2 separate regions of the Homo sapiens genome follow, and region 2 is linked to region 1. Evidence: promoter capture Hi-C in 16 types of primary human blood cells and fetal thymus (Javierre and others, 2016). All regions are on one chromosome and are shown on one strand. Each heading gives the region's core, a stretch centred on a gene start or on the middle of the fragment in contact. The rest is flanking DNA. Distances are from core to core; before and after follow the strand shown. Region 1 holds the start of KCNJ10 (potassium inwardly rectifying channel subfamily J member 10). Region 2 overlaps DCAF8 (DDB1 and CUL4 associated factor 8).

Region 1 (3,188 bases), core at 384-2,883:
TTGGCTTCAAACTTTTTTCATTTTCTTTTGATTTTTCTGTACTCCAATTCATTTTCTGTGTTCCACTTTTCACCATTGCCACGCTGATTTGGGCTGTCATCTCTTCATGCTTATATTATTGCAATTATTTTCTATCGTCTACTTGCCTACTATATCCACTTGGTTCAAACTATTTTGTCACCTCCCGATTAATTTTCCTAAAATGCCATAGCTTTCTCCTACTCCATCCTTCCCAAGAACCTTCAATTGCTCTCCGTAGCCTACAGAAACTCTGGCCTGACCACAAATCAGCACAACTCTGTGTTTCTTCCGGATGTTCCCCTTAACACAAACACTGCCTATGGTGCCTAACCTTTAGTCCCGTCCTTCCAGCTTCTCCAATGAGGCTATTTGAATGGACATTTACTTATCTTATGGCTTTTAGTGGTTAAACTAAGCTACATTCCTAGTTTCTTTCCTTTTTTTACCTGAATTTATAGCAATTCAATATGGTAACACTGGTTATTGATTAGCAGTTAAATGTTTATGATGATCAGAAATGAGGAAATAATTATATTCTTTTTAAATAAATGCTGGGGGTGGGGGTGAATTAAAACCTCTCAACACATAGATTCAGAAAATTAAAGAAATCTTTGGTGATGAAAGGGTTGAGAACCATCACCCTGCACTCTAATCTAGTAAATGGGACAGTTTGATGCTGTTTCCCAAGTGAACTTGTATTTTCACGTCTCCCCAGGACTCTGCTACGTTGTTCCCTCTGCCTTAAATGCAACAGAGTCCTGGGGACCATCTCTCAGCACCTGAATCTTCTGCTTCCTTTGGGACCCTAATCAGATGTTACCTCTTTCCTCCCACATCTGCTAGGAGCCCTCTGAGTAGAATGACCTCTCCCTTTTACAGCCTTCAGTACCTCCCGCACTTCGCTGAGGGTTCCGGCCTTATCTTTCCTTACAGAGAAAGCCGCTGCAGGTGGGCACCGTGTGCTGCGCGTCTCTCACCCAGCACCGCACCGGGGACTTAGGAGACGGTGAACAACACGGGAATTGTGCCCAAAGATACAGTCCTGTGGCTCAGGGAGCCCAGGCCTACTCCGCCCCAATCTCACTTCCAGGCGCCGCCTTCGGCGCTGCCTGCAGGGCCACTGGGCCGGTCCTGAATTCATTTCCACTTCGTTAACTCGGTCCCAGTCCCGCCCCCCGGCTCCAGCTCTCGTAACCCATCGCTGACAGGACCGCCTCCCTTTTCTTCCTTCTCCCTTCCCCTGTCACCCTGCCAGCTCAGCTCCTATCGTTTCGCATATCGTCTCTTCATCTCTCTTTCTCCCCGGGTCTGTCTGGGTCTCTGTCTTTGGATATTTCTCTCTGCGCCTGCAGCTGTCTGGGTCTCCGCTTCCTTGCCCCGCACGCCCCGCCCCCTGCCCAAGACCCTCCAATCTCGGCGGCTCGAGCCTGGCGCTCCACTCTCCCATTGGTCTGTTCGGAGCCCCCCGCCCCCGCCTGCCCGGCCCCCCTCCGGGCCCCTCCATTCACACAAAGTTTGGCTCCGGCGCTGCGGAGGGAGGGGGCGGCCCGGCCCGGCCCAGCTCTGCCCCCGGCCGGCCCGACCCCGGCCCCGGCCCCCGGACAAGCCCTTATCTGATCCCAGCTCCGGGTTTAAGAGTCCTGGCCCGGCCCGTCGCACAGCTCTGCTCCTAACTCCTGCCCGCCCCGTCCGTCCATCTGTCCCGCTGCCCCGCGGCCCATCCAAGGGGCCACTCCACCTCGGACCCAAGGTAAGACCCTGGCCCTGATGAAGGAGTTCTGCCGCCCCGGCCGGGTCCTGTCCCCCTAACTCTCCAGAGACATCGGGGTCCCAGATCCTCAGTCCCTACCCTGCCTGGCCTCAGCGGTACCACCGTCTTGTTCCCCTGCCTCCCGCCTTGGGCAGTCCCAAATGGAGCCTCCTGGGAAGGGCTCCCCACGAGGAAACTAGCCAGGCTGGTCACCTCAGCCCTTTCATCTAAGGAAGGGGCTTTCCCGATGCCCCCTCCCACTGGGCAGACCAGCAGTTGCATCCCTGCTCCTCTAGTTAATACAGTGACAACCACACATAACCAGGCACCCCATACACAGGCACAACAGACAGTGCGCCCTCCTCCCCATATGGACAGGTTACTCCCATCCCCAGCCCCTCCCCCACTCCCCATACAGTGACAATCACATAGTGACACCCATGATCGCTAGTTCCCACATGGGGAGAAAAACAGATACTGGCAGCTTAAACCGGGGAGCCACCAAAGCCTGGTGTGCTCCAGACCCCTGCCCACCCAATCTCTTCCTTCTATTCTGAGTGGCTCCCATTTTAAGACATCCCTCCTCATGGCCCCTCACCCTCACCCCAGCTGTTTCGCACTGGGATTTCCAGAAGGAAAGGAGCAGGGCCACTTCTGCTAGAGTGAGAAGGGCAGATTGGGTTCTATAAACTCACCCTCCAGATGGAGACGCCCCTTCCCATTCCATTCCTCCTCTCATCAGAACTAACCCAGGGCACCTGTGTTAGGGAACAGATGAAGGATGGAACTTCCTGATTTGGGGGAGGAGAGCTGAACCCAGGAATGGGTAGAAGGACAACACTGGGAAAAAGTGAGGGTGGGTTCTGGTGTCTTGAAGTTTAATTCCAGTGAGTGCCCCAGGCAGGGTGAGGCAGATGGGGAAGAAGCTGGTGCAGATTTGGACCCCAAAGAGGCCAGTGCTTAAAGCCTGCTTCTGTTGCTTACCAATACAAATTCTGACTAAAGATGTCTGGCCAGTCTGCTCTTGCTGTGGTGTTTGAATTTTTTTTCTCCCCACTGGGACTGCTTTAGGCTGCCTGGGTGGGAGGGAGATAATGACAGGAGATTTAGGGCCCCCATGTGAGAGATGGCCTTGTTTAAGGGTGCTGAGGAGGGCCTGGAGTGGTTGTCATGAAATTAGCCCCAGGAGGGGTGGGCAGCCACCAGTGAGTTCAATTTAGTTTCATCCTGAAACTCTCTCCCTAATCTCCAAGGATTTTTGAACATATTCCTGGCATGATGGTGGGTACCATCCTGTGCCAAGTGGTAGGGCTTGTAAATTTCTCTGGGGGTAGACTGGGTATAGGGGACCAAGTTTGGAAGGAACCAGGCATCCTGACTCATAGCTGGTTCTTCAGGGAGGAAGAAACGAGGGAGG
Region 2 (3,188 bases), core at 427-2,926, 180 kb before region 1:
ACATTAGACCCTTTCTTCTAACCTAACCTGTAGGAAGGCACTTCTTGAGGTTTTAAGCCTCTCTTTAATGTTTTATTGTAAGTTGTACCTTGGGAGCATCATTTTTTCATCTTAAATCCTCTCCAGTTTAAGAAAAATTTGAAATATAAATGGCAAAAACTGTTAATGGCAACAGACTTCTGATGTAAATGTAAATTGAGATGGAAACAAAATGAAAAGTAGATTTCCCTAGGAATTAGTTAAACTGAGATAAATGGTCCTGGATGTTTTTATAGAAAGTTCTCTTAGCCAGGTGCAGTGGCATGTACCTGTAATCCCAACTACTCGGGGGGCTGAGTTGGGAGGACTGCTTGAGCCCAGGAGTTTCAGGCTGGCAACATAGCAAGACCTTGTCTCTTAAAAAAAAAAAAAAAAAAAAAAAAAAAAGTTTGCTTAGTTCTGCTGCTGGAAATTAACACTTAAGGGTTAGAGTGCATTCCTGACATAGTCTGAAATACTGTTATTAGAATTAAAGCCAGAGGCCATGCACGGTGGCTTACATCTGTAATCCCAGCATTTTGGGAGGCTGAGACGGGCGGATCACCTGAGGTCAGGAGTTTGAGACCAGCCTAGCCAACATAGCAAAACCCTGTGTCTACTAAAAATATAAAAATTAGCCAGCTGCAGTGGCATGCACCTGTAGTCCCAGCTACTTGGGAGGCTGAGGCGGGAGAATTGCTTGAACCCAGAAGGCAGAGGTTGCAGTGACCCAATATCACACCAGTGTACTCCAGCCTGGGTGACAGAGTGAGACCCTGTCTCAAAAAAATAAAAATAAAAAAACAATAATTAAAGCCAGTAAACTATAAACACTGGGCATTTTATGTTACCAATAGGGAGAGAAGGCATTAATTCAAAGAAGGAACAAAGTTCCTTATTCATAGTTTGAATCCTCATCATTATCCATGGTGATTGCTTTGCAGTCTTCCATCTTGGGTATCCTCAGAACCTTCAAGAGGGAGAAGAGGCCAGGTGTGGTGGTACATACCTATAATCCCAGCACTTTGGGAGGCCAAGGTAGGAGGATTACTTGAGCTCAGGAGTTTGAGACCACGCGGCAAGATAGTGAGACTCCGTCTCTACGATAATAATAGTAAAAAAATCTATTTTAAAAATTAAAAGAGGGAGAAAAACTTAGGGAGGCTTATATTGTGGGTTCCTGGGTAGATTGTCTTACTGCAGTTCGTAGAACATGAATACTTGAAAGAAGATATTAACGGAGCTCTCTGAATTCTTTAAAACGCCAGAAAGGGTAAGCAGATTTCATAGACTTGGGACTGTGTCCTATATTATATACGATGTTTGGAGAATCATTGCTGAGTGGTAAAGAGGTCCAGGATTTTCTAGGAAATGTAGTCTGGTATAGAGATGGGAAACTAGAAAAATAATATAAATGGCTACTATGTACAAACAGGCTCTTAGCATACATTATTTTTAATCCTCTAAATTCCTGCAGGGTGGTAATATTATCCCATTTTACAAAAGAAAAACTCAAAAGCAGGTGGTAGAGGTAGAATTCAAACCCAGGTCTGTTTGACACCAAAGCCCTTTTCTTTCTTTCATAACACATGCTGTCTTTAAAAATAGGACTTTTCTTTTTTCTTTTTTTTTTAGATGGAGTCTTGCTTTGTCGCCAGGCTGTAGTGCAGTGGCATGACTTGGCTCACTGAAACCTTCCCCTCTCGGGTTCAAGCAGTCCTCCTGCCTCAGCCTCCGAGTAGCTAAGACTACAGGCGCATGCCACCATGCCCAGCTAATTTTTGTATTTTTAGTAGAAATGGGGTTTTACCATGTTGGCCAAGATGGTCTTGATCTCTTGACCTCGTGATCCACCCGGCCCGGCCTCCTAAAGTGTGGGGATTACAGGCGTGAGCCATGGTACCTGGCCAAAAAAAAAACCAGGGCTTTTCAAAGCCAAGAGATGAAGCTGAAAGGTAGAATTAAATATTTCTTATAAACATATGTATATAAATTATTCAAATGACAGTAGGAATACAAACTTTTTTTATTGTTTAGACATAGTTATGCTATATTGGTAAGCTAATGAGTTTTTAAGAAAACAATTTTTTTTTTTTTTTGAGACAGAGTTTCGTTCTTTGGCCCAGGTTGGAGTGCAGTGGCACAATCTTGGCTCATTGCAACCTCTGCCTTCCAGTTTCATGCGATTCTTCTGCCTCAGTCTCCCCAGTAGCTGGGATTACAGGCATGCACCACCATACCTAGCTTATTTTTGTATTTTTAGTAGAGACGGAGCTTCACCATGTTGGCCAGGCTGGTCTCAAACTCCTGACCTCATGATCCGCCTGCCTCGGCCTCCCAAAGTGTTGGGATTACAGGCATGAGCCACGCACCCATCCCAGGAAATAATTTTTATAGATTTAAGAGATAGCTGAATCCTAGTGTTTTATGATTCTTTACTGGAGAGAAAATCAGCATTCCATTCAATCTCTGAGATAATTCCAGGGGAAAAGCTGTTCTGACTCTTACAGCCTTTTGACAGTATACTGTTCTCTGTATTTTTTTGGAAGCATGGACTATCCTCCTTACCTTCTTGGTTTTTTTGTTTGTTTTTCTGAGACAGGGACTTGCTCTGTCACCCAGGCTGGAGTGCAGTGACCCCATCACAGTTCACTGCAATCTCGACCTCTGGGACTCCAGTGATCCTCCCACTTCAGCCTCCCAAGTAGCTGGGACTACAGGTGTACACCACCACACCCTGCTATTTTTTTTTTTTTTTTTTTTTTTTTTTTTTGAGATGGAGTCTCACCCTGTCGCACAGGCTGGAGTGCAATGGTGCGATCTCGGCTCACTGCAACCTTTGCCTCCCAGGTTCAAGTGATTCTCCTGCCTCAGCCTCCTGAGTAGCTGGAATCACAGGCGTATGCCACCGCGTGTGGCTAATTTTTGTATTTTTAGTAGAGACAGGGTTTCACCATGTTGGCCAGGCTTGTCTCAAACTCCTGACCTCAGGTGATCCACCCGCCTCAGCCTCCCAAAGTGCTGGGATTACCAGCGTCACTTAGACGTCAGCCACTGTGCGCAGCCTAATTTTTAAATTTTTTCTAGAGACAGGGTCTCCTGATGTTGCCCAGGTTGGTCTCAAATTCCTGGACTCAAGCGATCCTCCAGCCTCAGCCTCCCAAAGTGCT

The links. The method cuts DNA at HindIII sites, captures the fragments that hold promoters and counts their contacts. A CHiCAGO score of 5 or more calls a contact.
Region 2: a fragment that was not itself captured here is called in contact with the fragment with the promoter of KCNJ10 in region 1 in 1 of 17 cell types (naive CD8 T cells); the score reaches 5.5 in naive CD8 T cells.

Annotation. Positions count from the first base shown.
Region 1 is chr1:160,068,605-160,071,792 of GRCh38, reverse strand. KCNJ10 (potassium inwardly rectifying channel subfamily J member 10) reads left to right here and starts at 1,633. Exons shown (of 2, transcript NM_002241.5): 1 at 1,633-1,771. RefSeq lists a silencer at 1,442-1,671, a cis regulatory region at 2,166 and an enhancer at 2,082-2,251. The HindIII fragment of the contact is 4,127 bases long and covers 1-3,188 here.
Region 2 is chr1:160,253,251-160,256,438 of GRCh38, reverse strand. All of the region lies in intron 2 of DCAF8 (DDB1 and CUL4 associated factor 8), which reads left to right. Among named protein-coding and RNA genes, the nearest start is that of DCAF8-DT, 6.9 kb to the left of the region's middle. The HindIII fragment of the contact is 4,406 bases long and covers 1-3,188 here.